Regions from separate parts of the Homo sapiens genome. Here all the other regions are linked to region 1. The links are contacts of gene promoters, found by promoter capture Hi-C in blood cells and fetal thymus (Javierre and others, 2016). All regions are on one chromosome and are shown on one strand. The core of a region is centred on a gene start or on the middle of the fragment in contact, and the rest is flanking DNA. Distances in the headings are between cores, read along the strand shown. Region 1 holds the start of UST-AS2 (UST antisense RNA 2). Region 2 holds the start of LRP11 (LDL receptor related protein 11). Region 3 overlaps LRP11 (LDL receptor related protein 11). Region 4 overlaps LATS1 (large tumor suppressor kinase 1). Region 5 overlaps LATS1 (large tumor suppressor kinase 1). Region 6 overlaps LATS1 (large tumor suppressor kinase 1). Region 7 overlaps KATNA1 (katanin catalytic subunit A1).

Evidence for each region. Contacts are between HindIII fragments. The CHiCAGO score rates a contact against its expected background, and 5 or more counts as called.
Region 2: a contact is called between the fragment with the promoter of LRP11 here and the fragment with the promoter of UST-AS2 in region 1, in 3 of 17 cell types (naive CD4 T cells, naive CD8 T cells and total CD8 T cells). The highest score is 6.7, in naive CD4 T cells.
Region 3: a contact is called between a fragment that was not itself captured here and the fragment with the promoter of UST-AS2 in region 1, in 2 of 17 cell types (naive CD4 T cells and erythroblasts). The highest score is 6.0, in naive CD4 T cells.
Region 4: a contact is called between a fragment that was not itself captured here and the fragment with the promoter of UST-AS2 in region 1, in 3 of 17 cell types (non-activated CD4 T cells, activated CD4 T cells and naive CD4 T cells). The highest score is 7.6, in non-activated CD4 T cells.
Region 5: a fragment that was not itself captured here is called in contact with the fragment with the promoter of UST-AS2 in region 1 in 5 of 17 cell types (total CD4 T cells, activated CD4 T cells, naive CD4 T cells and 2 more); the score reaches 8.2 in total CD4 T cells.
Region 6: a contact is called between a fragment that was not itself captured here and the fragment with the promoter of UST-AS2 in region 1, in 1 of 17 cell types (activated CD4 T cells). The highest score is 5.5, in activated CD4 T cells.
Region 7: a contact is called between a fragment that was not itself captured here and the fragment with the promoter of UST-AS2 in region 1, in 2 of 17 cell types (naive CD4 T cells and naive CD8 T cells). The highest score is 5.1, in naive CD4 T cells.

What each region holds. Positions count from the first base shown.
Region 1 is chr6:149,031,280-149,034,295 of GRCh38, forward strand. It overlaps UST-AS2 (UST antisense RNA 2), which reads right to left and starts at 1,382. Exons shown (of 2, transcript NR_134599.1): 1 at 1,246-1,382. The region is part of intron 7 of UST (uronyl 2-sulfotransferase); the gene reads left to right. RefSeq lists an enhancer at 1,786-1,975. The HindIII fragment of the contact is 1,599 bases long and covers 177-1,775 here.
Region 2 is chr6:149,862,785-149,865,800 of GRCh38, forward strand. LRP11 (LDL receptor related protein 11) reads right to left here and starts at 1,575. Exons shown (of 7, transcript NM_032832.6): 1 at 624-1,575. The coding sequence starts at 1,236. It overlaps RAET1E-LRP11 (RAET1E-LRP11 readthrough), which reads right to left. Exons shown (of 15, transcript NR_182438.1): 8 at 2,432-2,560; 9 at 2,101-2,213. It overlaps RAET1E-AS1 (RAET1E antisense RNA 1), which reads left to right and starts at 714. Exons shown (of 2, transcript NR_045126.1): 1 at 714-1,598. RefSeq lists silencers at 580-729, 900-1,009, 1,150-1,209, 1,280-1,729 and an enhancer at 1,386-1,886. The HindIII fragment of the contact is 13,305 bases long and covers 1-3,016 here.
Region 3 is chr6:149,824,118-149,827,133 of GRCh38, forward strand. It overlaps LRP11 (LDL receptor related protein 11), which reads right to left. Exons shown (of 7, transcript NM_032832.6): 6 at 2,147-2,242. RAET1E-LRP11 (RAET1E-LRP11 readthrough) reads right to left here. Exons shown (of 15, transcript NR_182438.1): 14 at 2,147-2,242. Among named protein-coding and RNA genes, the nearest start is that of RAET1E-AS1, 38 kb to the right of the region's middle. The HindIII fragment of the contact is 786 bases long and covers 1,082-1,867 here.
Region 4 is chr6:149,714,432-149,717,447 of GRCh38, forward strand. All of the region lies in intron 1 of LATS1 (large tumor suppressor kinase 1), which reads right to left. Among named protein-coding and RNA genes, the nearest start is that of LATS1, 2.2 kb to the right of the region's middle. The HindIII fragment of the contact is 1,950 bases long and covers 463-2,412 here.
Region 5 is chr6:149,686,665-149,689,680 of GRCh38, forward strand. All of the region lies in intron 3 of LATS1 (large tumor suppressor kinase 1), which reads right to left. Among named protein-coding and RNA genes, the nearest start is that of LATS1, 30 kb to the right of the region's middle. The HindIII fragment of the contact is 3,336 bases long and covers 1-3,016 here.
Region 6 is chr6:149,658,004-149,661,019 of GRCh38, forward strand. It overlaps LATS1 (large tumor suppressor kinase 1), which reads right to left. Exons shown (of 8, transcript NM_004690.4): 8 at 150-3,016. Among named protein-coding and RNA genes, the nearest start is that of KATNA1, 11 kb to the left of the region's middle. The HindIII fragment of the contact is 718 bases long and covers 1,141-1,858 here.
Region 7 is chr6:149,611,421-149,614,436 of GRCh38, forward strand. All of the region lies in intron 4 of KATNA1 (katanin catalytic subunit A1), which reads right to left. Among named protein-coding and RNA genes, the nearest start is that of KATNA1, 36 kb to the right of the region's middle. The HindIII fragment of the contact is 3,516 bases long and covers 1-3,016 here.

The DNA.
Region 1 (3,016 bases), core at 132-2,631:
TAAAAATGAACACATAATGTAAACCCCTTTAACTTCTAAACACTTGTGATTTTTTTTAGTGAACATTTTTCTGAGGGGAACTGTATAACCACAGGCTGATAACATCATTCAGTTTACAGAAACATCACCAATTCACAAGAATTCAGCCTCTAGGCTTGTTTAATTTACTTTATGAAAGCTTAAATTGCAGCATAATATATGTGCGTTTGGCCTATTTCAACTATTACTCTTTGTTTTATTGGAAAACATGTTTTACTCTTGCTTACTGATTTGTTCTTGCGTTGGGATCATCTCTCCTCCAGGAGAAAGCATTTCCAATTTTATTATGAAAGATTAACAGGAAAATAGAACTTCCTTCACAGACATTGATGTTCTAGGAATAACTTTACAAAAATATTTCTCTTCTCTGAAAACTAATATTTAAATAGGTGTAATCTGAAACTACCAGAAAAATTCAACAAACACCTCCAGCAAATAAATAGCTGAGTGTCTGTGATGTCCCTTTCCTGGGGAAGGGCAGTATAAAGATGAAAATCTTGTCTAGCTGGAAGGCCGTCACTAACAGGGCTGGGGCGCATAACCCTGTGGAGACATTTGTGCCCGGCCTTAAAGGGTGCGTAGGAGTTTGCCAAGTGGACGTGGAAGGAGGCATTTTAATAAGAGGAAAATAACATGATTGGAAGCGTGGAGGTGAGAAAGCATAGAAGCACTCAGAGTGAGGAGAGCTGGGGCTTGGGCCAGCCCACGTCAGCCCCTGCCTGCGGACCCAGCCTCTTGGAGCCAGGCTCACTCACCCTGCCTTTAAGACGGCCCTACCAGAGGCAGGAGAAGGATCCGCAGCCTCAGCTTTCTGTGGCGCAACCTGGCACTGAGTCACTCATACCAATCTCAGCGCCAGTGGCCAAGCCGCTGCTGCCGGAGGGCCTGTGTCACCCTCCCCCCGTTTCCCTGCCCTCTTCCCATCCTACCACCACCCAAGCTCCCTGGCTTCCTAACAGTGTGGCAGGGATCCTCCCAGGCCCCCATCCTCCTCCAGCCTGAGTTCTTCCTCCCTGCTGTCTTCCCAGTCTTCCCCACTAAGATCCCACCACCCTTCAGACCCGGGCTCACACCAGCTCCTGCTGGCCCCATGTGCCTCGCACCGAATACAGGAGGTCGCACACTGCATCCCCAGACACCAAGTACTGCCCTGCTTGACCACCTATGTTCCCCTGGGCCCACCAGCATGGACTCTCCTTCTGTTACCAGTCACTGCCTGATCCAGGCATGAGCTGCCTGTGTCCCCCGACATCATCCTCCTGGCACCATCCTCTGCTCTTCCTGGCCTTCTTCACTGGGAGCCTTCGGGATCATCCCTCCAGATCAAGTTCTTCCAGCCCCACCTCCCTCCCACCCTGTGCACCCAGGGAAATTCATCTCTTCTGGGTCCCAACCTTGGCCTCGGGAGAGCCCCAGATGCCCCCCTCTGTGTCTACCCCAGTTACTCAGTGTGGTCAGACTTGGGGGTTGTACAGTTTTCTGTCTCATGATTCATTTCCCCAGGCAAAAAGCTGGCTAATAATATCTGGGTGTGCGGGGGAGGTACCAGTGTGTTTCTGTGTTTGGAGGTGAATTTTTTTCTACTTTAGAATTTAATCACTTCTACTTTGAGCAGTTTTTAGCTGAGCTGACAGTAATATGCTCTGCATTGAGTATTTGTAGGGGGTGGAATTAGTCACCACAAATTTCAATTTTTGGACTTTCCTGATAACGCCACAAAGCTGAAAGGCTTCTAAAGCTTGAGCAAAGATTGGAAACTTGACCCCAGGGGTTGATGGTTGATCTTTATAAAAACGACCTTGTGGTCAGTTTGTTCTTTTATGCTTAAATTGTCAAGGTCCCTGTCCACCCCAGGAATTAATGTGGTGATGTGGAAAGAGCACTAGACAAAGGATTTCAAAACTGTCTTTGGGCCCTTGGCTCGTGGCCTTAGCTCTCTGACATTCTTTGCTTATAAAATGTACCCCCTGCCGGGGCGAAGTACAATCCTTACCCATTTTGCATGACTCAACATTTTATAATGGAAGCTTCTATTTTTGTCTGGCTAAATCTTTTTCAAATAAAAATATTTCTTGGTCTGTATATTTTTCATGTCTCAGACATTTTTATCAATACATAATGTCCTAGCTTTTCACATCTTGCAAATGGCACAGAATTGTGAAAGAATACAGCAAAAAGCTAGAAATATACCTGTGTATATAACATTGCTGGGGATTTTTATGTGTGGTTTCTTGTGGGTTCTAGTAAGCACGTTCATTTCATTACCTACAAACGCATAGAAAAATCCAACATAATCCCACACTGATGAGAAGAAGAGAGGGTTGTTTGTCAGGTGGGGTAGTTTCACTTGACTTGAAGGTCTCACCCCGCCCCTCGTCTTTACCATAGCATACGCTTCTAGATGCTTCTGCTGCATTGTCAACCAGACTCTACCAGAACTGTTTTTCAAAACATGTGTTCCTAGGATTTTACCTCCCTGCATTTTTTGCTATATCTATTAAGTAATGCATGTATATAATTAAAAATCAAATAGTCCTATAAGATGTATAATGAAAACCAGCAGTTTCCTATTCCAACCCTCCCAAAGATGAAGTCTGATGTTGCAGAGCCAATCACTTTCAGCGCAGCTAGATGTTTCTTCGGATAATCACCGCGCTATCTGTAACTAGTATGCACAGGCTGCTGTTTCTTGATTTACTGGGGTCATGATCTCATTCTCTTATTCCATTACCTTTACTTCTACTTCCTTGCTCCTCTCCATCTTCCTAAGATGGTCATACCCACATTTGAGATGCATGGTCCTGCTGACGTTGCTGTGACTATATACATTTTGTTGGCTGCTGATCAGAGTAGTACATCATGATTTTGTTTCATTTCTTGCACAACTTAATTGTTTTTCCTGGAATTATTTATTGCCTTCATTTATTTGCCTAGATTTATTTGTACCTATCAAAAATTTCGTATGTGCCAAAATTTT
Region 2 (3,016 bases), core at 325-2,824, 830 kb after region 1:
GGTCAGGCAGGTCTCAAACTCCTGACCTCAGGTGATCCGCCCTCCTCGGCCTCCCAAAGTGCTGGGATTACAGGCATAAGCCACCACGCCCGGCCTTAAAGTTTCTTATTTTCAACGAAAATCAAGTCCCCTCTTTTCACTTTTTATAAAAGGGACCAGAAGTTTTCCTCCCATTTTTGTATGATGAAAGCCACCGCAGGCAAAGTCAGGAGAGCCACGTCAAGAAAAAGGAGTGGGTGTTACGAGAAGCCCGGCATCTAATTAGATTTTGCTCTTGCAATTACTTAACACAAACCATGCCTTATACAACCCATGAGACTAAAACAAACTTTTTTCTCTCAGCATTTCTCCCCTTTTAAGTCATATTTCCACGAATCCTCTCAGATCAGCCTTTCTCTTCAAGCCTAGAAAAATTCCAGTAGCACGTCACCGCGCCCGCCCGCCCGCTTCTGCCAAACTACTGGGCTTCCTCTTCCCTAAGACAGAGAAACCCATGCCAGAAACTCTTCTGGGTGCCCGCGGCTAAAATAACTTGGCACGAGTGTGTTTCGCTTCCAACTTGGCGAGGGCGCTGCGGGTCTCGAGCGCTCTGGCCAAGGCCGGCCCCTCAGTCGCGCGCTTACCCTGCCGGGGCGAGGCGCGCGCGGTGGCCAGGGCGGCGCCGTCCGGCGCGCGGCTGAGGCTGTAGCTGCTGTAGCCGCTGTGCAGCGCGAACTTGCAGACGTTGCGGCCGCGCGCCGTGCAGTTGAAGAGGTAGCAGCCGAGCACGGCTGCCGGGGGCGCGGGGCGCCGGGGCAGCTCCACCACGGCCACGGAGCAGCGCGGCTCGGAGCAGCAGGCCGCCACGCATTGCCGCCAGCCCCGCACGGCCGCCGGCGCCCGCAGGAAGCTGGCACCCGCCGCCAGGGAGTCCTTGGTGCGGATGATGGCGTCAGGCATTGCGCTGTAGCCGCCGCTGCCCGGGCCCGGGCAGTCCTCCTGGGGGCCGCCGCCCGCGCGCAGCTCCAGCTCCAGCTCCTCCTGAGGCCGCTCCTGCTGCAGTTGCCGGCGGAACTCCTCCAGCAGCTGCTCCACGCCCGACAGCTGCGCGTGCAGTTCGGACAGCGGCGCCGCGGGCGGCAAGGCCGCACGGCCGCTTGGCAGCCACAGGCAGAGCAGTAGCAGCCCGCGCAGCGCCCCGTGACGCGGCGGTAGCCGGCGCTGCGAGCCCGCGCTCTCCTGGGCGACGGAGGCCATGGCGACGAGAGCCAAGGGCAGCGAGCCGAGGCGGGGCTGAGCGCGGGAGGAAGGCGGGGACGCGGGCGAGCGCGGGCCCTGGGCCCCTCCTGCGCGGCCGCGGCTGGCTCTAGGCCCCGGCCTCACAGCGCGGCGCCCCCGAACCCGGCTGCTCCCCCGAGGTCGCGGGCGCCGGCGGGAACCGCAGTAGCGGGAGACATAGCCGGCCCAGCCGGGCACCGCTCCTTGCCCTCGCCGGAGACTGCCCAGCGCCCTGCGCCTCTCCGCCCCGGCCTGCGGCGCGCTGGGTGGCGACGAGTCGGCCTCGGCGTTGATCAGCACCAGGTGTGTGCGAACAGTGGCCGCGGCGGGGTGGAGCCTTGGTGAGCCCCGCCCCCCCGCGCGGCCCCGCCCCCGCGCGTCTCGCGCCGGCTCCTCCAGGGCTGGGAGAGCAGGCCCCGGGGAGGGCAGCCTCAGAACAACTTTGCTCCCGCGCCGCTGCCCAGCTAGGGCAGGGTTCATGTCTGGGCCCAGCAGGCTTTAGCAACCAACCACACCTGCCCAGGGCGCCTGCCCACAGGGGCTTGGCATTCGGGGGAATGGGGGCAGTGGGAAGGGAGGGCCTGTCTTCAAATCCTCGTGACCCCCGGGACTACTCCAGAGAGGGGGCACGCGCACCTAGGACCACCGTAGCGCGTCATCAGTCCTTCACCTCCAGCGTCCCTGACTTTCCGCATCATGTTCCCAAGATGTGCTTGGGTAGTACAAAGTGGGGCGGGGTTGGGGTGGCGGAGTCAGGGCCGGGAGGGGTGGGGATGGGAAGTACTGAAAGATGTTCAGTCTGTTTAAAAACACAAAAATCAAGCCTGGTGAGGTGGTACTCGCCTGTAAGTCCTGAGGCTGAGTTGGGAGGATGGCTTGGACCCAGGAGTTCGAGACTGCAATGAGCTGTGATCACACCACTGTACTCCAGCCTGGGGGACAGAACAAGACCCTGTCTTTAAAAATAAAAACAAAACCCATAAATAGCAGTCGTCACATGCACTCAGATTTCCACAAATATAACAAAAAATCTGAACACAGCCAACATGGGGACCTGGGAGTAATACAGCCTGTGACAGAGAGGCCTCTAGCGGTTATATCACGTAAAATCTCGGGAGTTGTGCTTTAAATGACATAAGGAATAAGAAAATGTCCAACCCAGTGGGGGCTTCACCTTGGCGTTCTAGACTTCTGTGAGCAGCATCTGCATCTTGTTTGTTTCTGAATCAGTTTCTGTTGATTCATTTTTCTCCTGATTGTGGATCGCATTTTCTTGCTTTTTAGCCTGTCCGGAAATTTTTGCCTGGATGCGCACATTGTAAATAGAACACTGTTAAGTGTCTGTATTTTTTAGGATTGAAAGAATAAATAATTGGTGGGAAAATATCAGTCTCTGCTATGTGTTTATTATCTCCAGAGTTGACATTTAGGAACCCATTGCTTGCAGATCCAGATCAGAGTAGGAGGTAAAATTAAAAGGTAGCAATAGAAAAGAAAGAAAAAAGCTCAATGTTACTTGCCATTCCATCAAAGGGAGAAATTATAAAGTTTTTGCAGGGGTATATTTGAGTGATTTTTGAGGCTAAAAGAAATGGCCTCTTAGCTCTAAAGGCTGTGTCTGGACTGTACCACTTCGGCCTGGAGATTCTTCCTCATATGGCATACTCATCCCACACAACTGCAGTCATTGTAAGATGACCTTGAAGCAACATAATGCTTTTTATTTTTTATTTTTATTTTTTGCCATAGACCTTGGAGA
Region 3 (3,016 bases), core at 225-2,724, 790 kb after region 1:
AATCATTTCTCATGAATTGGACCGCAACACCCAGCCCCAGTCCGGGGGACTTGCTTAAAGATGAGCATCAGCATTTAGGCTAAAGGGTTATGAAGCTGTGGTTGAAGATGCCAATCCCAATGCCGGGGCTCAGGTTTAGCTATGGTAACAATAAAACAGACGAGATCTGGGAAAATGTTCTATTTGCTAAGTCAGATATGAGGCTGCTGAACTGTCTGATCTGATTCCTGTTTAATGCTTTTATGACAAGGAAAATGAAATCTCCCAAAAGTACTTGCCAGAATATTGAAAATTATTCTTGACTTTTAATATTTAGTTGGCTTAGTTTGGATAATTTGAGATTTACAACTTTCTAGCTCCTTCTAAAACACACCATGATGCTATTCTCAGTAACCAGCTAGGGTGATGAATTATGTATTCTGTTCATATGAATGGGGGTGACATTTAAAATATGTAACAGGCTGGGCACAGTGGTTCACACCTGTAATCCCAGCATGGTGGGAGGCTGAGGCAGGAGGATCACTTGAGGTCAGAAGTTTTGAGACCAGCCTGGCCAACATGGCAAAACCCCATCTCTGCTAAAAATACAAAAATTAGCCAGGTGTGGTGGCATGCACCTGTAATCCCAGCTACTAGGGAGGCTGAGGCAGGGGAATCGTTTGAACCCGGGAAGCAGAGGCTGCAGTGAGCTGAGATCGCGCCGCTGTACTCCAACCTGGACAACAGAGTGAGACTCGATGTCTCAAAAACAAAACAAAACAAAAATATGTAACAACCAGAATAGGCAACAGCCAACTAGAGCTGAGACTCTCTGGATACATATGTGTGGGGAGGCAAGAGGCAGGCTGGTTTCCCTCTTCCCTTGATAGGGGACAGGGCCCCTTTTATTCAAATATCTTGGGACAGGCTAAGTCCAGGAGGCCAGCAGACCAAGGGGGTCACCCAGGTACTTGACATCTGGAGTATTCTTAGCTATCTATTGTTTAAACATTATATTTTAATATTGTCCTGATATTATAAATAGGGTAAAAAGAAAGTTTTCTCAATGTTTATAACTTAAGCTTATATTTTGTTCTTCTAAAGCTTCTTTTACTAGTTTGTGGGATTTAAGACTAAAGCCTGCCTTTCTAAAGGATGGTTTCCAAAGTCTTTTCTTCCTAGTTAAAATCAACCAAAATTAAAGAAATTATTGTATTCTTCTTCCACTTAGTAAATATTCTACTTCCTACACCCTTCCCTCATTTCTGTTGTTTTCTGTCTTTGTCACTAGGGCACTTGGAAAGAGAACTAGGTATTCTAAGACCTTTACTCTTCTTTCATCGTAAATAACTGAGTAATAACTGCCATCGTTTCTATATTTGGCTCATCATATGAGCCACACAGTGCATTCAATGCTTGAGATTAATTATCCCATATATTCTTCTCAGCAACCCTATGAGGCAGGTATTGTTACTATCCTCATCTTACGAATGAGGAAACTGAGATCCAGAGAGATAAGATAGCCTGCTCAAGGTCATACAGTTTAGTGGGTAAGTGAGAATTTTTTTTTTTTTTTTTTGAGACGGTCTCACTCTGTCACCCAGGCTGGAGTGCAGTGGCACAATCTTATCTCACTGCAGCCTCGACCTCCCAGGCTCAAGTGATCCTCCCACCTCAGCCTCCCTGGGACTACAGGCGAATGTCACCACACTTGGCTAATTTTTGTATTTTTTGTAGAGACAGGATTTTGCCATATTGCCCAGGCCGGTCTTGAACTCCTGAGCTCAAGCGATCCTCCTGCCTTGGCCTCCCAAAGTGCTGGGATTACAGGCGTGAGCCACTGTGCCCAGCTTTGAGCAAGGATTTGAATTGTGGCATCTGACTCTAAAGCTTGTGTTCTCCCACCATGCCACAAGTATGACATTTTCCACAGGTGTCACACCTGGAAGGGTGTATAGAAAAGGCAGCTGAGGTCCAAAGATGGAAGGTTACTATCAGGAGCCCCAAGACGCAGTGCAATACAAGCAACGAGGAGACAGTTCTTTCGGTCCACTGACGGACTCCTCCTGTCCTGAGCTCTCATGGCCTCAGGGAATATCCTCAGCCAGAGGGCATGCAGTTCTGAGAAGACTACAGTCTGCAAAGGGTTTCCAAGGTGGACATTTACCTGTTTCTGGGGCTGGGTGTTCCCCTCCTCCTCCATCACCCTTTGACTCAAATATATAACTTTCCTCTTTTCTGTTCTTCCCTGAGGAACTACTATCTGCAGAAAAGAAAGAGAACATATATTGAAGGTGTATGCATCAGAAACTTCAGGAAACAAATGTGAAAATACAGCCTTATTTTTTTTTAAGATGGACTTAGAGAAGAACTGTTTATTTCTCTACTAAACAAAGGCCTATGTTTGATAGTTAAGCAGTAAATAACTAAGGTGACCCACTGAATAAAGCAAAGTACGCAGCTAATACGAAACCACCGACAGAGAGAGCGGAAGACACACCCTGCACCGAACTACCACCACGCCTCTTGGAGAAGGGAGATCTCAGGCTAGAAGAGTCACAGGGAGTCTCCGGATATCACGCCATGAAAAGCAGAAACCAGAAAGGTTTTTCTTTGAAGAATAAACAATGGGCATATATAAGGCATTTAGACATGCTCTTTCTCTTTCTCACAACTCTGGATGGCAGGTATAAATAGCTCAATTTTCTTTCTGGTTAGGCTCAGGGTCAGGTTCGTACCTAGGTTCACACAAGTAAGTGGGTCACAGGGCTGGGATGCAAACTGGTTTCTTGGTAGAGACCAGTACTTCTAATTTAATGATATATTACTTAACTATTAAGTTATAATACTGAGGGGGAAATTATTATTATTTATTTACTTTTTTTTTTTTTTGAGACAGAGTCTCTGTTGCCCAGATTGGAGTGCAGTGGCACGATCTTGGCTCACTGCAACGTCCACCTCCTGGGTTCAAGCAATTCTCCTGCCTCAGCCTCCCGAGTAGCTGGGATTACAGGTGCGTGCCACCATGCCTCGCTAA
Region 4 (3,016 bases), core at 188-2,687, 680 kb after region 1:
TATTGTGCACTCAAACTGTCATTCAATAGACAATGCAATTAAAGGCATAAGTAATTATTAAATTCAAGCAAGATCACAGAATTTTCAAAGGTAAGACAGACTCAAAAGTCTGCCAAAACTTTTGGAGTTATCTTCAGAAGAAGCTGTTTAATTTCCAGCAATAGGTAATTCAATTAAGAAGAAGAAAAAAAAACTAAGTAAGCAAAAATGAAAGGCAAGCAAAACCCCAGTATTCTTCAATATACCTTAAAATTATACACACAATCATAAAGACAATATAGGTTAAGATAATTAACTAGCATTATGAAAAGCAGCCTGTTATCATGATGTTGCATTAACTAACCGAAGTAATTCAGAAGGATCCTAGATTCTGAATGTGAATAAGGCTGAGACTCAAACTTTATTGTGACAGACGAAAATGGTATACAATTGAATGAATAAATGTATGCTATTATTAATAAAAGCTTTATGTTTACTTTCTTCCTGCTAAAAAATTGCTACTAAATAGATGGCTTATCTTAGATTTAGTGGTATTTCAGAATTGATAAAGTATGATAGTTCAACCTTATTCCTTTAAATACCGATATTGAATTTCATCATGTAGATGTACTATTTTTTATTTATTTATTTATTATTTCTTTATTTCTTTATTTATTTTTGAGACAGAGTCTCACTGTCGCAGGCTGGAGTGCCGTGGTGCCATCTCAGCTCACTGCAACCTCCGTCTCTCGGGTTCAAGTGATTCTCCTGCCTCAGCCTTACAAGTAGCTGGGACTACAGACCCGCGCTACCACACCGAGCTAATTTTTGTATTTTTAGTAGAGATGGGGTTTCACCATGTTGGCCAGGCTGGTCTCGAACTCCAGACCTCAGGTAATCCGCCCTCCTTGGCCTCCCAAAGTGCTGGTTACAGGCGTGAGCCACTGCGCCCGGCTAGATGTACTATTACTTATAAATCCCTGACTGATGGACATTTAGGTTGTTCCTCATTTTTTTGCTAATGTAAAATAATACTGCAAACTGGTAACTTCAATTATACTGGTAATATTCTTGTTCTGAGTTCAGGTGGTAAGTTCATGGATGTTCATTTTATTATGCCTCATAGTTTAATAAAATGAACATATGTATAATATACATATAGCATATTCCTTGCACATAACGAAATTAGTTAATAAAAAAATTGCTGCAATAAAAATTCTTGTGCACACATTGCTGAGCATTTTTCTTAAAATAAATTCCCAGAAGTGGAATTGCTGGATCAAAGAGAATACATATTTAAAATTCTGATACTTATTGTCAGAATGCCTTCTAGAAAGTTATACTAATTTTATAATCCCCACAACAAGGTATGGTTAATACTGGCATTACTAAATCTCAACAATCTTTGCTGCTATGACATGTGAAAATTCAAATTATTACTAGGCAAAAAGAATTTTTAAAATAATTCTTCAAAGCAAAACTGCTTACCTTTTTAACCCACACTACGATGGGGCCAGATTCGTCTTAATAAACAATTCTGATCATGTCACCTACCTACCCCATAACTTTCAATGACTTTAATCTCATGGTTAAAGTAAGAGCTCTGGAATCAAACTGCCTGGGTATGACAGATCGCCATTTTTTTTTTTTTAAAGTTCAGACCCTCATCAAAAATACAAACATCAACAAACAAGTATCATTGATTAGTTTGTCCAACTTAGGAAAAAAAAAATGATACCATTACATAAGATTTCAAAGTGTTAATTTGGGTTGAATTAAGTTTATCAGAAAGGTACCCTGGCTGGGTGCAGTAGTGCACCTGTAGTCCCAGCTACTTGAGAGGCTGTGGTGGGAGGATTGCTCGAGTCCAGGAGTTGGAATCCAGCGCAGGCAACATAGCGAGTTCCCATCTTTAAAGGAAACTGCATACTGACATTTTCTTCAGTTCACTTTCTAATAATTGTCAGATCAAAAGTGAAAGCAACGCTGTATCTTCATGCTGAAAAATGATTGCTGTTCCTACTTAGCGAAAATGTTATTCAATGACTAAATAACTTTTGTGATGTATAACAATCTCCCATTGATGTAAATAAAACATCTAAAATAACCAAATAACCAGGGTTAGAACAGTTCCAACACTATTTATATAGAACAAGGACTTGCAATAAAAACAAAACAAAAATAAAAACGACCTACACAATGAAAGCCAGATATTATACATTAAAAATGTAGTAGAAGTATTTTTTGGTGAGCAGCAAGGCATATTCCATCAATATTTAGGCATAGAATGTGCCATTCCAAGCATGGACCATGATCTAGTTTCTTGCAGTAGCAGCCAATTGGACTAACACAATGCTACTTCTTTTACTGTTCAATCAAATTCCTCCACTGCCTTAAGGAATCAACTACCCCATTTTACCGTCAGAGATAATAAGCTTTGTTTTCGTAGCACAGAACATTCACTCCAATTATAATGTCCTACCTTTTCTTCCTCATGGAGGAAATTTGATAAAAAATTAAGTTTATCAGAAACTTCTGATAAACTGATAAACTGATAAATTTATTAACCTTCAATAAATAATTCATAAAGTTCAAACAAGTTTCATGATCGCTAACATTCAAATCCATTTCCAAAACTGGAGTTATACAATATTACTTCTGTGCATGAGATTATACTTATTGTTCACTAGATTTATGAATAACTTCTGGAGGATGATACATGTTTTAAAAGCCGTATTAACATATGAGTTGACAAACATTAAATTTTGTTCCCTTAGAAATTGACAGAGAAGTCAGAATGGGGATAAATCAAGTCATCTGAGGCATTCATTGAGCTACAAGCTATTTCAGGTTATAAAAAACACTGTTCCCTTAATTGTCGTTCCTTCATTTGCTGTATTTATATACACACTCCTACTCCATAAAGACCTCTCCATCTCTCCCACCTCTTCCAACTATGAACAGTAACCTAAAATCACACTGAACTAGACGTAAGAGACTCCCAGGATTTCTCTAAGGTATACCCAGGATCAAGGCC
Region 5 (3,016 bases), core at 294-2,793, 660 kb after region 1:
TACAGGTTGATATTATTCCTTTTAAAAAGCCAGCTCTTTTGAACTTCATGCTATGTGGGAGGCCACACTAATTCCTCTCACCTAATGAGCTCCTGCCTATTTGCTCTATTTCATTCAGCCACAGCTTCAGCATTCAGTCTACCCTAAGCCCTGCCTTCATCCTGTAACCTCAATAACCACGAGGATAAACCATCTATTGCCCTCATATCTCAGCTTCTTGACGTCCCCTCTTCCACTCCACATCAAGTATCATTCTCATGATTGTATTTCAAACTTTGGTATTACTCATATCTGCTCTTGTTTCAGAATAACTACTTTAAGGTTTATACGCTTATACTCCCAGACCACAACTACTTCTTCTGTTTACTCCTACTGCAAAAGTTTTTAAACTTTATTAAGTAGCAACCTCACCAAGATCTCCAAGATTTTTATTTTTTTTTTTTTGAGACAGAGACTTGCTCTGTCGCCCAGGCTGGAGCGCGGTGGCATGATCTCGGCTCAGCGAAACCTCTGCCTCCTGGGTTTAGGCGATTCTCCTGCCTCAGCCCCCTGTGTAGCTGGGATTACAGGCAGGTGCCACCACACCCAGCTAATTTTTGTATTTTCAGTAGAAATGGGGTTTCACCATGTTGGTCAGGCTGGTCTTGAACTCCTGACCTCAGGTGATCCGCCCACCTCAGCATCCCAAAGTGTTGGGATTACAGGCATGAGCTACCGCATCCAGCCAACATCTCCAAGGTTAATCCCCTACTTTATCAGTCCTCCTTTTTCTTATTTTTATTCTTTTGAGACAGTCTTGATGTCACCCAGGCTGGAGGGCAGTGGCATGATCATGAATCACTGCAGCCTTGAACCCCTGGGCTCAAGCAATCCTCCCACCTCAGCCTTCCAAGTAGTTGGGATTACAGGCATGCATCACCATGCCCAGCTAATTATTTTATTTATTTATTATTGTAGAGATGGTATCTAAGTTGTCCAGGCTGGTCTCAAACTCCTGGGCTCAAGTGATCCTCCTTCCTCAGCCTCCCAAAATGCTAGGATTATAGGCAGGAGACACTAAGCCTAGCCTATTTTTAAAACTTTTTGTAGAGACGGGGTCTCCCTAATATACCCAGGCTGGTCTCGAACTCCTGGCTTCAAGCAATCCTCCCACCTTGGCCTCCAAAGTGCTGGGATTACAGGCGTGAGCCACCGTACTTGACCCTCCTCTTTTTTTTTTTTTTTTTTGAGGCGGAGTCTCGCTCTGTCGCCCAGGCTGGGAGTGCAGTGGTGCGATCTCGGCTCACTGCAAGCTCCGCCTCCCGGGTTCACGCCATTCTCCTGCCTCAGCCTCCTGAGTAGCTAGGACTACAGGCGCCCACCACCACGCCCAGCTAAGGTTTTTGTATTTTTAGTAGAGACAGGGTTTCACCGTGTTAGCCAGGATGGTCTCGATCTCCTGACCTCATGATCTGCCCGTCTTGGCCTCCCAAAGTGCTGGGATTCCAGGCATGAGCCACCTTGCCTAGCCTGGCCTTCCTCTTTCTTTATGACACATTTTATCCAACTTAAATCCATGGTCTATCACTTTGTTCTTCCCTCTCTATTCTTTTTCTCTGAGATCACCTCCTTTTTATTCATTCATTAAATATTTGGGTTTTTTGTTTGTTTGTTTGTTTTTTGACATGGAGTCTTCGCTTTGTCACCTAGGCTGGAATGCAATGGCGCAATCTCAGCTCACCGCAACCTCTGCCTCCCGGGTTTAAATGATTCTCCTGCCTCAGCCTCCCAAGTAGCTGGGATTACAGGCGCCCACCACCACGCCTGGCTAATTTTTTGTATTTTTAGTAGAGATGGGGTTTCACTATGCTGGCCAGGCTGGTCTTGAATTCCTGACGTCGTGACCCGCCCACCTCGGCCTCCCAAAGTGCTGGGATTACAGGCGTGAGCCACTGCACCCGGGCCGTTCATTAAATATTTATTGTGCATCAACTATATGCCAGGCACTGCTCTAAGCAATCCAATGACATTGGTAAACAACAGAACATCCGTGGCCCATGAACCTACATTCTCGAAGGAGAAGCCAGACACAAAGCAGGTGAATAAATAAATGAGGTAACTTCAGGGTATGATAAATGCTCTGTGAATGAAACATAAATGGCATCAAATGATAGAGAGTAACAGGAGGCTAGAAAGGGATAAGGGCTCCTCTGAGGGATAATATATGAGTTCAGACAGCACAGGCCAGGCGCGGTGGCTCAAGCCTGTAATCCTAGCACTTTAGGAGGCCGAGGTGGGCGGATCACCTGAGGTCAGGAGTTCAAGACCAGCCTGGCCAACATGGTGAAACCCTGTCTCTACTAAAAATACAAAAATTAGCTGGGTATGGTGGCACATGCCTGTAATCCCAGCTACCTGGGAGGCTGAGGCAGAAGAATCACTGGAACTCAGGGGGCGGAGGTTGCAGTGAGCTGAGATAGCGCCACTGCACTCCAGTCTGGGCGACAGAGCAAAACTTTGTCTCAAAAAAAAAAAAGACTGCATAAAGGTCCTGAGGTGGGAGCTTGGTATTTTCCAAGAACAAAATAAACCCAGTACGGCTGTAGAACAGTAAATGAAGGGGGAAAGTGGTATTGGATGGGATCTAAGAGGTAGCCAGGCCATGGACAAGGAATTTGGAAGAATAAGAAGCCGATAAAGGTAGAGGAGGAGTACGCTCTGATTAAGGATTTAAATTATCCTTTCAGGCTGGGCACGGTGGCTCATGCCTGTCTCAAAAAAAAAAAAAAAATTACCCTTTTAGCAATATTATCGATCTTATTTTGTACTTGTTTAGTGAAACTCCAGTCAGGGATAATTCCAGCTATCTTTTTTTGTTGTTGTTTTTAACTTAAAAGAAAAAGTGATGCAGTGGGCAGACTGATTTTACTATAATTCAAGATCAGCATCCTTCAATGGCCTCAGCACCACCAGGAAACTCTTTCTATAGTCTCCACTATTGCCAGTCCTCAGTCTCCTCAAACTGCCTGCTCTAGTC
Region 6 (3,016 bases), core at 250-2,749, 630 kb after region 1:
CTTAACCTAAGTACTATCATTAGTTATTTTAATTCCAAAGCATCAAAATTTTAATCATAACTTTCTCAGAGAATAAAAAGATTTACATAAATTTTTGAATCAGAAAACAACATAGTTAAGCAGTGTAAAAATTAGCTTTCCACACATAATTGAAAGATTTGAATTTTTTTTATTATCCCAGCAAACATTACACTAGAGAAAATGATTGGGAAAATACAAATAAGTTCATTAAAAACACAGGCTGATTATTCATATCTATTACATTCAGAATTATGCGAAACAATTAGTTATATTGCAAAGCTGTAATTCTTTTTCTAACAAAGCATGATTTTATAAAACTTTAATGTTGCCACTGATTCAATTTTAATACAAAATACTTATATACACAATACAATATAAAAGTAAACTGTGTAGTGCCTTCCACAAAGGGATATATTAAGGCGCTTTACAAATATACCAATATTTTGACCCAAATTACTTTTTGCTTTAGATTAAAATGAACAGGCTAAATGTTCCACTTTAAATACCAAAGGGATGTTTATTAAAAATTTTTTATCTAAAATACCTTGGGTAACAGCAGCAGCAATGTCTAAAAATCCTCCCACTGTATTCTCTAATTTCTAACACATTAAGTCAGAATAAAACAATTCCACTCACAGTTTTGCACTTTGCAACAGCAGAAGGTAATAACTTTTTAAAAAAGTCAATCTCAAAGTGACTTTTTAGTCATACATTCTATAGTTTCTATTACAAATAAGAAGGTAGAAAAGATACAGCAGTAGGGCCTGCCTTATGATGTCACTGGACAATGCATAACAGTATCTACAATTACATAATTATAGAACACATCTTATAAATACTATTGATATGCATAAAAAGGGTAAGTATAATAAAGACAGCAAGTTTTTAATAAGAAAATTATTTTAAAAGAAAACATATAGAACCAATGTTTTCACTCCATTTCAATGGAAAGCATCTATATTTTTAACATTGTTTTTCTCATCTTTTTGGTCAGGAAGCACCAGATTCTATACTGGAAGAAGTAGATGTAGTTTTGGAATAAGATAGCTGATAAGTATATCCAAACTGTTAAAATTGCTGATACCAAAGGCATGTATACTGCTTCAGATAAATGCAAAAAGCTTATAGTATCAGAGGAAATTTTAAAAGAATACATATTTGCGCCAGGCGCGGTGGGTCACGTCTGTAATCCCAGCACTTTGGGAGGCTGAGGTGGGCATATAACTGGAGCCCAGGAATTCCACACCAACCTGGGCAACATGGCGAAACCCCATCTCTACTAAAGATACAAAAATTAGCTGGGCTTGGTGGCGCATGCCCAGCTACTTGGGAGGCTGAGGCGGGAGGACTGCGTGAGCCCCCAAGGTTGAGGATGCAGTGAGCTGTGAAGCGCCACTGCCCTCCAGCCTGGGTGACAGAGTGAGACCCTGTCTCAAAACAAAAAACAAAAAAAGAATACAAAATTTGTAGTGTCTGTTACATTTCAGCAATAGGGGGAATACAGATTTTGTGGGAAGGGAAGGGGGAGGAGACAGCACCTTAGTTTTCCTACAACATAAATGTAACAAAGTTATCTTCTACTGTATTGCACCTTAGTCCAAAAGTAAAACAACTAAATGAAAATTTAAATAAATCAGACTGAAAAAGCCCAAAGAGTAAGAGGAATACCTTATAAATGTGACTACCCACCTAAAAATTCTTGAACTACTTTGTTTTGCATAGGATTTTATGGGACTAACCAAATGTTCCATGAACCATGAGGTGAAGACTGCGATTTCATGATAGCACATTGTTTTACAATTCTGATTAGAAATCCTTCAGAAATATTTCTGTATCAAGCTTGTAATGAGCCTAACATTTCAGTCCCCTCCAAATGATATATTAAAACAACTTAATGTACCAGCAAGAGAGGCATTCATAAGGTCACCTTATATCACATGCTACAGACCTTTTCCATCACAAATTATCAGCTTATATAAGATGTGCTGAGTAGTGATTGGTAAGTTAAAAACAAAGTTCTTAGTTTAATGTATCAATTTTCTCATGGCACAGAGGTCCATAACCTACAGCCTGTGATAGGTTTCAATATGTCCAAAATCCCTTGAAACTGCATGCAACATTGTATGTGTATGTGTGGTTTTTTTTTCTAGGAAGAGTCCACAGCTTCCTTCAGATTCTCAAAAGAACCACTAACCCCAAAAGACGCACGATAACACAGTAGTGGGTTTTCAGGCTGAGCTCTGAAAGGACCACCTGTAGAAAGGTGGGAAGTGTGGGCTAATAAGTGTTCTTTGCCCTAACTCTCCAATTCAACTGCAACAGCTCTGCCTTTAATTTTACTACATATACGGTTTCAATTAGCTTTTATGCGAAGAAAGCTAAAAGTATGAAAATCACTAAAATTATGCCTCCAATCTACAAATAGTAACTTTTGATAAAAACAATCCCTTATCAGTGGAGCTTAAGAAAAGGAAATAAAACACAACACAAATTTTACTATGGTCAAAATGGAGCCTTTTTCCCCTTCCTAAAAGATAAGCTACATGTATTTTGGTATGAAACCTTAATCTTCCTTAGAACCTAAGCGTTATACATAACAGGCATGTTGAACGCATTATTGAACCTTAAATAAATTAGGAGGACTTGAATTTTCTACTAAGACCACTCTGTAAACTTTCCTAATTATTAATGGCCATCTTAAGAGTTAATTTTTTCACCAATTAATCTGCGCTTAGGTAAAATATTGCCAGATAGCCAGATTTTCCTTTGCCAATAACAATCTGTATATGCAGCACTGTTCTGAAAGAGGAAACAGGTAACATTGATGATATAATCAAAATAGTTACTATACAGGAAAAGTATATGAAAATTAAAATAATTATCTGCTTAGGATGGTGAGAAATATTTTAGCTTTTAGTATTGAACATTTCGATTTATGGCAGCTTTGTTCCCTTTTAAAATTGGAAGCAGCATCAAAAATACCAATATGGAAAAA
Region 7 (3,016 bases), core at 204-2,703, 580 kb after region 1:
CATCGTACTCCAGCCTGGGCAACAAGAGCAAAACTCTGTCTCAAAAAAAAAAAAAAAAAGAAAAAAGAAAAAAGAAAAAAAAAGATATTGATAAGAGCAAAAAGCAATAAAGTTAAAAACAGAATAACTATAGAGAAAATTCAATGAAACAAAGGAGTCTTTTAAAAAGATTAAAAATTGACAAACCTCTAGCAATACTGACAATGCAAAAAGGACAGAGAACACGTATTACTGGTATAAGGAATGAAAAAGGAGCTATCATTATAGACCTGCAAGCACTTAAAGAATAAGGAATATGGCCAGGCATGGTGGCTTATGCCTGTAATCCCAGCACTTTGGGAGGTCAAGGTGGGTGGATCACGAGGTCAGGAGATCGAGACCATCCTGGCTAACATGGTGAAACCCCGTCACTGCTAAAAATACAAAAAATTAGCCGGGTGTGGTGGCGGGCGCCTGTAGTCCCAGCTACTCAGGGAGGCTGAGGCAGGAGAATGGTGTGAACCCAGGAGGCGGAGCTTGCAGTGAGCCAAGATCATGCCACTGCACTCCAGCCTGGGCGACAAAGCGAGACTCCATCTCAAAAAATAAAAAAAGCATAAGGAATCCTACAAAAATGCTACATACATAAATTTGACAACTTGGATTAAATGGACTAATTCTTTGAAAATCACAAACTACCACAACTCACCTAATAAAAGAAGATAATCTGAACAGTACCATAACTATTAATGAAGGTGATTCATAGTTTTAAAGAAATATTCAAGCCCAGGTAGTTTCATTGTAGAAACATTTAAAAAAGAATTAAGGCCCGGCGTGGTGGCTCACCCCTATAATCCCAGCACTTTGGGAGGCCGAGGCAGGTGGATCACCTGAGGTCAGGAGTTCAAGATCAGCCTGACCAACATGGTGAAACTCTGTCTCTACTAAAATACAAAAAAATTAGCCAGGCGTGGTGGCACGCATCTGTAACCCCAGCTACTCGTGAAGCTGAAGCACGAGAATCTATTGAACCCAGGAGGCGGAGGTTGCAGTGAGCCAAGATCGCGCCACTGCACTCCAGCCTGGGTGACAGAGTGAGACCCTGTCTCAAAAAAAATTTTTAAAAAAGAATTAAATCAATTCTACACAAACTCTTCCAGAGCACAGAAGGAAAATTTCTCAATTCATTTTATAAAAGGCTATATTACCCTGATACTGAAATCAGATGAAGACAGTTCCAAAAAACAAAACAAAGGAAAAACTATAGACCAGTATCATTCATGAATATACAGATGCAAAAATTGTTAACAAAATATTACCAAATAGAATTCAGCAAGATATAAAAAGAATTACATACCATGACCAAGTGAGAATTATTCCAGGGACATAAGACTAGTTCAATGTTCAAAAATTAATCAATATAATCCACTATATTAAGAGACTAAAGAAAAAGACCCATGTGATCATGCAACAAACGCAGAAAAGCATGTGCTAAAACTGAATACCTATCCAGGACAGAAGCTCTCAGAAAAATAGAATTTAAAGGGAATATCCTCAACCTGATAAAGAGTATCCACAAAACCATCCTGGCTAACACGGTGAAACCTCATCTCTACTAAAAATACAAAAAATTAGCTGGGTGTGGTGGCGGGCGCCTGTAGTCCCAGCTACTCGGGAGGCTGAGGCAGGAGAATGGCGTGAACCCGGGAGGCGGAGCTTGCAGTGAGTGGGGATCACGCCACTGCACTCCAGCCTGGGCAACAGAGCGAGACTCTGTCTCAAAAAAAAAAAAAAAAAAAAAAAAAAAAAAAAAAAAAAGAACATCTACAAAAACACCTCACCTACAGCTAACATTATACTCTCTGTGATGAAACATTGAATTCTTTCCTCCTAAAATCAGGAACAGGAACACAGCAAGGACATCTACTTTGTCACTCTTAAATATTTGACATAGTACTGGAAGTTCTAGCCAATGCAATAAGGTAAGAAGAGGAAATAAAAGGCATAGAAATCCAAAAATACAGAAATATTTGCAGATAACATAATTGTCCACACAGAAAATACTAAGGAATCTACAAAAATTCTCCTAGAATGAACAATTCTAGCATAGTATTAAGCTGACAAGATAGAAGATAAACATATAAAAATCAATTATTGGGACAGGATCGTGGAAGACTGACAGAGTAGGAAGCATCAAGAATCTGTATTTCCACCTAAACAAAAACTGCACCTGCAGAATCTGTTTGATGCAACTATTTAGGAACTCTGGAGTCTATTGGGAGGACTGCAACTTCCAGGGGGAAACCTGGATAGTAAATGACAAATTATGGTTAATTCTGGTTAATTTCAGCCCAGCTACTGCTATGGTTTTAATGTGTCCCTCCAAAAGCAAGGTGTTGAAACTCAGTAGCTAATGTGCTAGTATTAAAAGTTGGGCCTTTGAGAGGGGATTATGCCACAAGGGTTCCTTCCTCATGAATGGGATTAAGGCCCTTACAAAGAGGTATCACACAGCATTTGGATTTCCTGCTCTTATTCCTTCAGCCATGTGAGAACAAAGTGTTCCTCTACTCCAGAGGATGCAGCCCTCACCAAACAACTGAACATGCCAGCACCCTGATCTTGGACTTCCTAACCTCCAGAACTGTGAGGGAAAAAAATCCTGTTCTTTATAGATTACCCAGTCTGTGGTATTCTGTGATAGCAGCACAAAATGGAATAAACAACTCAGCCCGTAGGCCCTTAGTAGGCAACTGTACACGTGCTCCTGGAGTAGTCTGCAGGCAGTTCACAGGAGCCAGGATGGTCAAAAAGGACCCTGTCCTCCAAAAACTAGGTATGTGTGTTTTGATTGCCGAATGCAGCTTCTGACCTTGCAGTCACAGGGGCAGCTATGGTTGCACCCCTCCTCCCATTGTTGCAAGCCCTTCCCCTTCAGGCTGAAGCAACTTCAGGAGAGTTAAAGGGCCACCGACCTTTTATTTCCCCCATCCCCTTCATTTTTCTCTTTTTTCCCTTTTGGGGAAATAGACATTTA